Regions from separate parts of the Homo sapiens genome. Here region 1 is linked to region 2. Evidence: promoter capture Hi-C in 16 types of primary human blood cells and fetal thymus (Javierre and others, 2016). All regions are on one chromosome and are shown on one strand. The core of a region is centred on a gene start or on the middle of the fragment in contact, and the rest is flanking DNA. Distances in the headings are between cores, read along the strand shown.

What was found. Contacts are between HindIII fragments. The CHiCAGO score rates a contact against its expected background, and 5 or more counts as called.
Region 1: a contact is called between a fragment that was not itself captured here and the fragment with the promoter of RD3L in region 2, in 1 of 17 cell types (endothelial precursors). The highest score is 7.4, in endothelial precursors.

Annotation. Positions count from the first base shown.
Region 1 is chr14:104,622,066-104,625,313 of GRCh38, forward strand. No RefSeq gene overlaps it. Among named protein-coding and RNA genes, the nearest start is that of TMEM179, 19 kb to the left of the region's middle. The HindIII fragment of the contact is 780 bases long and covers 928-1,707 here.
Region 2 is chr14:103,940,512-103,943,884 of GRCh38, forward strand. It overlaps RD3L (RD3 like), which reads right to left and starts at 2,018. Exons shown (of 3, transcript NM_001257268.2): 1 at 1,581-2,018; 2 at 886-1,191; 3 at 1-592. The coding sequence starts at 1,184. The coding sequence ends at 295. All of the region lies in intron 1 of TDRD9 (tudor domain containing 9), which reads left to right. The HindIII fragment of the contact is 3,550 bases long and covers 1,574-3,373 here.

The DNA of each region.
Region 1 (3,248 bases), core at 68-2,567, 680 kb after region 2:
CTGGGACCTTTCCCTTCTCTTCTCAGAGAGGATCTGTTGACATTAGAAAATAAGGTTTATCTTACACTCTCCCATGGGTGTAACAGTTCCTACATCAGCTCTAAGACTCATAATCTTCAGGTTTCCCTCCTGTAGAGCAAAACCCCCTTTTGCACAGGCAGCCTCCTCTCGCTATCACCACATTGTCCCAGGTGGGCAGCAGTCACGAGGAACCAATGCCAATATGTTCTGTAAATAAAAAGTGGGTCTCCCTCTAATCCAGAAATGTTATGCTCACTCGTAGGATTGTCAGTGGTGTTGGAAGCAGAGCGACTCCATCTTGAGTGAGGGCTGGAAAATGATGTGCTCGCCCGTAGGATTGTCAGAGGCGTTCGAACCAGAGCGACTTCATCTTCAGTGAGGGCTGGAAAATGAGACGGGGATTTGCTGAGCTGCATCCTCAGAAAGTGAGGCATTCCAAGCCTCTAGATGTTTACAGTTAAGGGAACAAATGAATAATGTTTACTAAACAGACCCAGACTTGGGAGTGTTCGGCTATCCCAATATCTAGAGAACAACGGCATTCCTAATTTTGCTTTAAAGGTAATAATATCAATCCTTGCAAAATATAGCAATTAAGAAAATTAATTCTTTATCACAAACCCTTGTAGCAGAGCGCATCTCCCCATATATACCAGCATTGTACCTAGGGTGGACGCGTTCCTCCTCTTACTTTCGGGAACGCTCTACTCTGTCTACGAAGTAGCTGTCCTTTTACCACTTTACTTCCTTAATAAGCTCGCTTTTACTTTGCACTGTGGGCTCGCCCTGAATTCTTTCTTGTGTGAGATCCACGAACCCTCTCTTCGAGTCTGGATCAGGACCCCTTGTCCTATAACAGGATGAAATAGATAAGCATAGATATACAAATATATCAATATCTAGTGAAGCTTCCCTTCAAATATCAAAACTATGGAAAACAGTTTTAACAATACAAGAACTTAGAACATTCTGAACCAGGAGCCCTTGTCTTATTTTTTTATTTATTTATTTTTTTTTTGAGATAGAGTCTCTCACTGGGACGCCCAGGCTGGAGTGCAGCAGGAGTGCAATGGGGCAATCTTGACTCACTGCAACTTCTGCCTCCTGGGTCCAAGTGATTCTCCTGCCCCAGCCTCCCTAGTACCTGGGATTACAGGTGTGCGTCACCACACTTGGCTAATTTTTGTATTTTTAGTAGTGATGGGGTTTCACTATGTTGGCCTGGCTGGTCTCAAACTCCTGACCTCAAGTGATCCGCCCACCTCAGCCTCCCAAAGTGCTGGGATTACAGGTGTGAGCCACCGCACCCGGCCCAAGAGCCCTTCTTGAAGAATCTACTAGAATATTAACTTCATCCAACCCAAAAGATGACTGTGCTCCTTCAGCACAAGGAGCATCATAAGGGCAGAGGGTGAAAGGTTCATAACTAATGTTGTGTGCAGTGACAAGGTAGGAATATCGCAACTTTGAAACGCTGGAGAAGAGAGAGGGAAGGAGGAAAATAGCATCAGCTCACTTACGGTGACACAGGCAATCAGGGGGACAGTTAGTTACTGCCCAAAACTAACAAACCCACGGTGAAAGTTTAGGTGAGAAAACAGGAAACTAAGGGCACTTAAAAAGGATAAGCAATCCTTAGAATAAAAATACAAACCCCTGAGAAAAATAACAGGAAAGAAAGAGCAAAGCTTACACATCACATGGCGAATGTCACGATATACACATATTAGAAAATATTATAACAGCTGACGCTGAATGCATGAATCTGTCTTGGTCCTGTTAGGCTGCTCTAACAAATACCTACAACTGGGAAGTTCACAGGCAACACAGTTCTTGGGGCTGAGAACTCCAAGGTCAATGTGCCAGCAGATTCGATGCCTGTGAGGGTGCTTTCCACGTGTCCTCACAAGGCGAAGCGGCAAGCGGTTCCCTCGGGCCTTAACAAGGGCCTTAACAGGGCACTAATCCTGTTCCAAATGGGCAGCCCTTCTCACATCCTAGTACAACACCTTGGGAGCTGGGTTTCAACATAGGAATTTTGGGGGGACGTGAACACTTAGACCATCACAAAGTCATGGGCTTGATTCACTTACCACAGGAAAAAAAATCACTTTGGCTCACAAGTGACATCCAACTACATGCTGTATTCAAGACACAGCTGAAGTAAAGTGATCCAAAATGCTGGAATTGAAGGGATGAACGAAGGTACATGAGTCATATAAATGCAGCAAGAAAAGAAATGGGGACCACGCTAGCAGGCAAGGTAAAATTCAAGACAAAAAAGCCTTAGGCAGCACGAAGAAGGACTTTTTAATGCAAAAAGACAAGATTCACGCAAAGATCAGTTATGCAACAAGTAACTCAGGGCCAGATGTGGTGGCTCATGCCTGTAACCCCAGCACTTTGGGAAGCTGAGGCAGGCAGATTGCTTGAGCCTCAGGAGTTCAAGACCAGCCTGGGCAACATGGCGAAACCCAGTCTCTACGAAAATTAGCTGGGCATGGTGGGCATGCCTTGGTCCCAGCTACTAGGAAGGCTGAGGTGGGAGGATTGCTTGAGTCCAGGAGGTTGAGGCTACAGTGAGCCGAGATCATGCCACTGCACTCCAGCCTGGGTGACAGAGCGAGACCCTGTCTCAAAAGTAAATAAATAAAAATAACTCAGCAACCACCTTCAAGGAGCAAAAACACAGAAACTGTAAGGAGTCATAGCAGCAAACTAGCAATAGGAAACGTTAGCATATCACTCCCGGAGCAAGGCGGCTCAAGGGAACAAAAAAATAAGTAAAGTGGGTCGGCTTGTGTCCGCCAGGAAGCAGGCAGGCGCTGAAGTCAGGATGTAAGAGGTGCATTAGGGGCAGCACCTACGGAAGGTGAAGGTGAAGCAGGCACAGGATTGGACAGGCAGAGCCGGGGGCTGAGACGTATGTCTCACAAAGTCTCAACAACCCTGGGGGAGGTTTAAGGCAAAGACTGCATGAAAGGCCCAGGTGAACAAAACTGGCCAGGTCCTCATCCCATGCCTGCCCCTGCCATTGCCTGAGGCTGCCCAGGAAGAACAAGGCCTGCTGCAAGCATTGTGGCAGCCCCGGAAGGGGCTACAGCTGCAGGCCATTGGCTAACTGCTCCTCTCCAGCAGAGAGACAAATGCTTCTGGAAAGGAGATCTGAGCAGCTCACCTCCCTGGCTGCCACATAGAACACAGAAGATCTAAACAACACAGCGGCT
Region 2 (3,373 bases), core at 768-3,267:
GTCAGACTTCATACTAAAGTTGCTTTAGTTCCTGTGAGGTGGGTTTGAGGTATAAGAAAATACTGCAAACATTTTTTCAAAATACTTAGGAAACATTTTAGTTAAAAGCATACTATTCAATGAAAACATAGCATGTTTAGAGTGGTTAAAAAAAGAACACTATTTAAAACATAGGCTACATCCACAGGATACTGACCTTGTAACAAAGAAAAACTTGAAGTCACATCACTTTTTCTTATTCTTAATATTAGGAGTTCTAAGGTGTTCATAAAAACCCCTCTAGTTGTAAGTAACTTAACTAGATGGGTGATAATATGGTAGGTTCCATATTCTGTGTGAGAACACTGGGAACCTGTCCTTTGTGTTTTTGTCTACGTAACTGGAAATGGTGGGTATTTCATCTTTGTCTGCCCTCTTGGAGCTGTCACCTTGGATCACAGAAGGAGCAGAGCAGTCCATGCTCCCTGAGTCCTCCAGGTCCTCTTGCTCACTCCCTCTGTCAGAGCTGCTTAGGAAGTCTTTCAGAACTTGCTTGAAGATGTAGACTATTTCCCATGGCAGTACATCATTTTCTGCCAAAACTTCTCGAAATCTAGAGGGGAAATGGTAATGAATATTCAGTTTAGAACATTTTTTGTTATATCTCTTTATCTCCAAAATACAGCTTGAATAATGTATACAAGTTACCCACCTTTTGAGTATTTTGCATGTTGTTTTAAAATTATGCTTCTAGTAAAGAAATTTTAAATGTAATTTAAAACAATTGCTCACCAGACATCTACACAGTTAAAGAATTTACATGATAGAATACAGTTTCTAGTCAAAATATATGAGGAACTTGGACTTAGCAGTAGCAGGAATCATAAGAGAACATAGTATTTTTACCTGCTGAGAATAGTTCCAGTTTGGCAAGGTTGAACTTGTGAGCAAAGAACTTCAAGTTGTCTTTGTTCAGTCACTGGGATAGTTGTGTGGGGATTCTGGTAGTTTCTGAGCCAGTTGTAATCCACACCTGTTTTTTTCACTTTTTGTTCATTTTCGATTTCTTGTATTAATCTCTCTCGCTCCTTTAGGTGCCATTTTAATTCCCGAAGCAGAGTCTTTGTCACTATGTCTGAGCCAGGATAGTGTGTGGGTTTGTAGGAATCGTTTTTGGGCCATTTCATCCAGCCAAAAAGTGGCATTTTTAGCCTATGGAAATATTTTCACTTGTTTATTTGCTCAAAATGTTATGTTCTTCTGAGCAAATATTTGTTTCTTTACAATAAATTTGCCCGAAAAGTGCACGATTTTTTTTCACATTTAGCTATGCAGGTCAAAATAAGATTAGAACATGGATTAACGTCTTAATTTTTAACTAGGTCAGTGGCAGAAACCAAGCTTTGAAAATGCTTTTATGTAGCTTAGCAGAAATTAGATATACAAAGTCAGAGATAACATATAGACTGAATGATATCCGAAAATAACACTAACACTTGCTGTGAAAAGTTCTTAAGAGACTTAAAATATTAATGTCGGGGCAAGTGCTGCCTACAGATACTTTTGATTTATGTTTTGGACAGAAAAGGTTTAAAGCTTACCTGTTAAGTTGATGGGCTGATGTGATGTTGCCAAAGAGTTGACTGAAGTTGGTGACGAAGCTGTGTTTCACTGGGACGTATCTTGCTCTCCTAGGTGTGTCCTCTGTAGAAGGAATGCGCCACCTTATTTACCCACCGAAACTGTATTTGAAATAAATAACTTTCTGTGTTAGGAATGAGGCTGTGATGTCTTCATTTGGAGAGAATGCTCATTAATTCACCTTGTAAGTAAGCTAGAAGAAATGACAAAAATAACTGACTATTTAATCTTCACAAGTTATATAATGGTCTGCCTTTTCAATGTAGCTCAGTCTATTTGAAAAAAATGCCAGCAGCTATAGATGCTGGTCCTAAATGCATTCCGACATGTCTTTGGTAGTGAAACGAAGAATGGTCGTCTAAAGCACCATAGATGCGCTCCGAGCTAGAGTGAAGACTGTCGCGTGATGTGATGCTTTGCTGTGCATAGCTGTAGGTCACAGTTTAGTGCTGTATTTTTATGCCTGTAGAGCTCTAAAAATAGCCACGTTGCTTTTATTCTTCAGCTTAACTTTCAGGCCATTTGGAAGCCGGGTCACTGTCCCCTCTAGTGAAAACAGGAAAAATAGATTAGACTTGACTATTTGCAAAACATACATTCTGAGAAAACTCATTGTAATTGAGTGAAATAGGTAAAGAATGCTGATGTGAATTATAATTGTGAAATATTTAGCAAATGTTACATTTTGTATTCATTTTGGTTTTTTCAAAATAGTTAAATTTGTATATTTAAGCAAGTTGAAATGCTAGGGGACATAATAAACAGCTAGATAACTTTAAAATATACTTTATAATCTCTGAAAATATGGTAATAAGGCAGTAATTGGTTGTCAGGGAAAAATAGAGGCATAAGAACATACAAAATTCTAAACAAAATCTTATAATTCATCGTAGAAAAATCATTTTCGTGTTTTTTTTTTGGAGCTGAGGATGAAAAACTTATATTTACTATTTAGGTGCATATTGGTTTGTAATGGTCATTATTGTGCTATTTCTTTTTTCTTTCTTTCTTTTTTTTGAGACAGAGTCACGTTGTGTCACCCAGGCTGTAGTGCAGTGGCATGATCACGGCTCACTGTAGCCTCGACCTCCTGGGCTCAAGTGATCCTCCCACCTCAGCCCCCTGAATAGCCAGGACCATAGGTGCATGCCACCACAGGTGCATGCTACGGCATGCCTGGCTAGTTTAAAAAAATATATACACACGCACATATGTACATACATATATGTTTTATATATGTACATATGTGTATGTATTTTATATATGTACATATATGTATATATACACATAAGTATATATACGCATATGTATATGTATTATATATGTATATATAAATATACACACATATATAATACACACATATATACACACACACATACATTTCTTTTTTTTTTTTTTTTGTAGAAATAAGGTCTCCCTGTGTTGCCCAGGCTGGTCCGTAAACTGGGCTCAAGTAATCCACCTGCCTCAGCCTCCCAAAGTGCTGGGATTACAGGCATGAGCCACTGCGCTGGCCTGTGCTAATTTCCTATGCAAGTGTTTGTCTTTTGCTAAAGAGTAGATAGTATAAAAGGTCTTTTACTCCCCAGTTCTCTGTGAAACGACTGCATAGTGGTTTTCCCTTTTATAGTATTTGTTTCTTCTGTTGCTTTTCCTTTCAAGTGAGCCATGAAGAGTAGACGTTGTTTACATCAGACTTGCATGTCATGCATGACCCAGAGTGACGTGTGTGGCCACCCTACAGCTCCTGTTG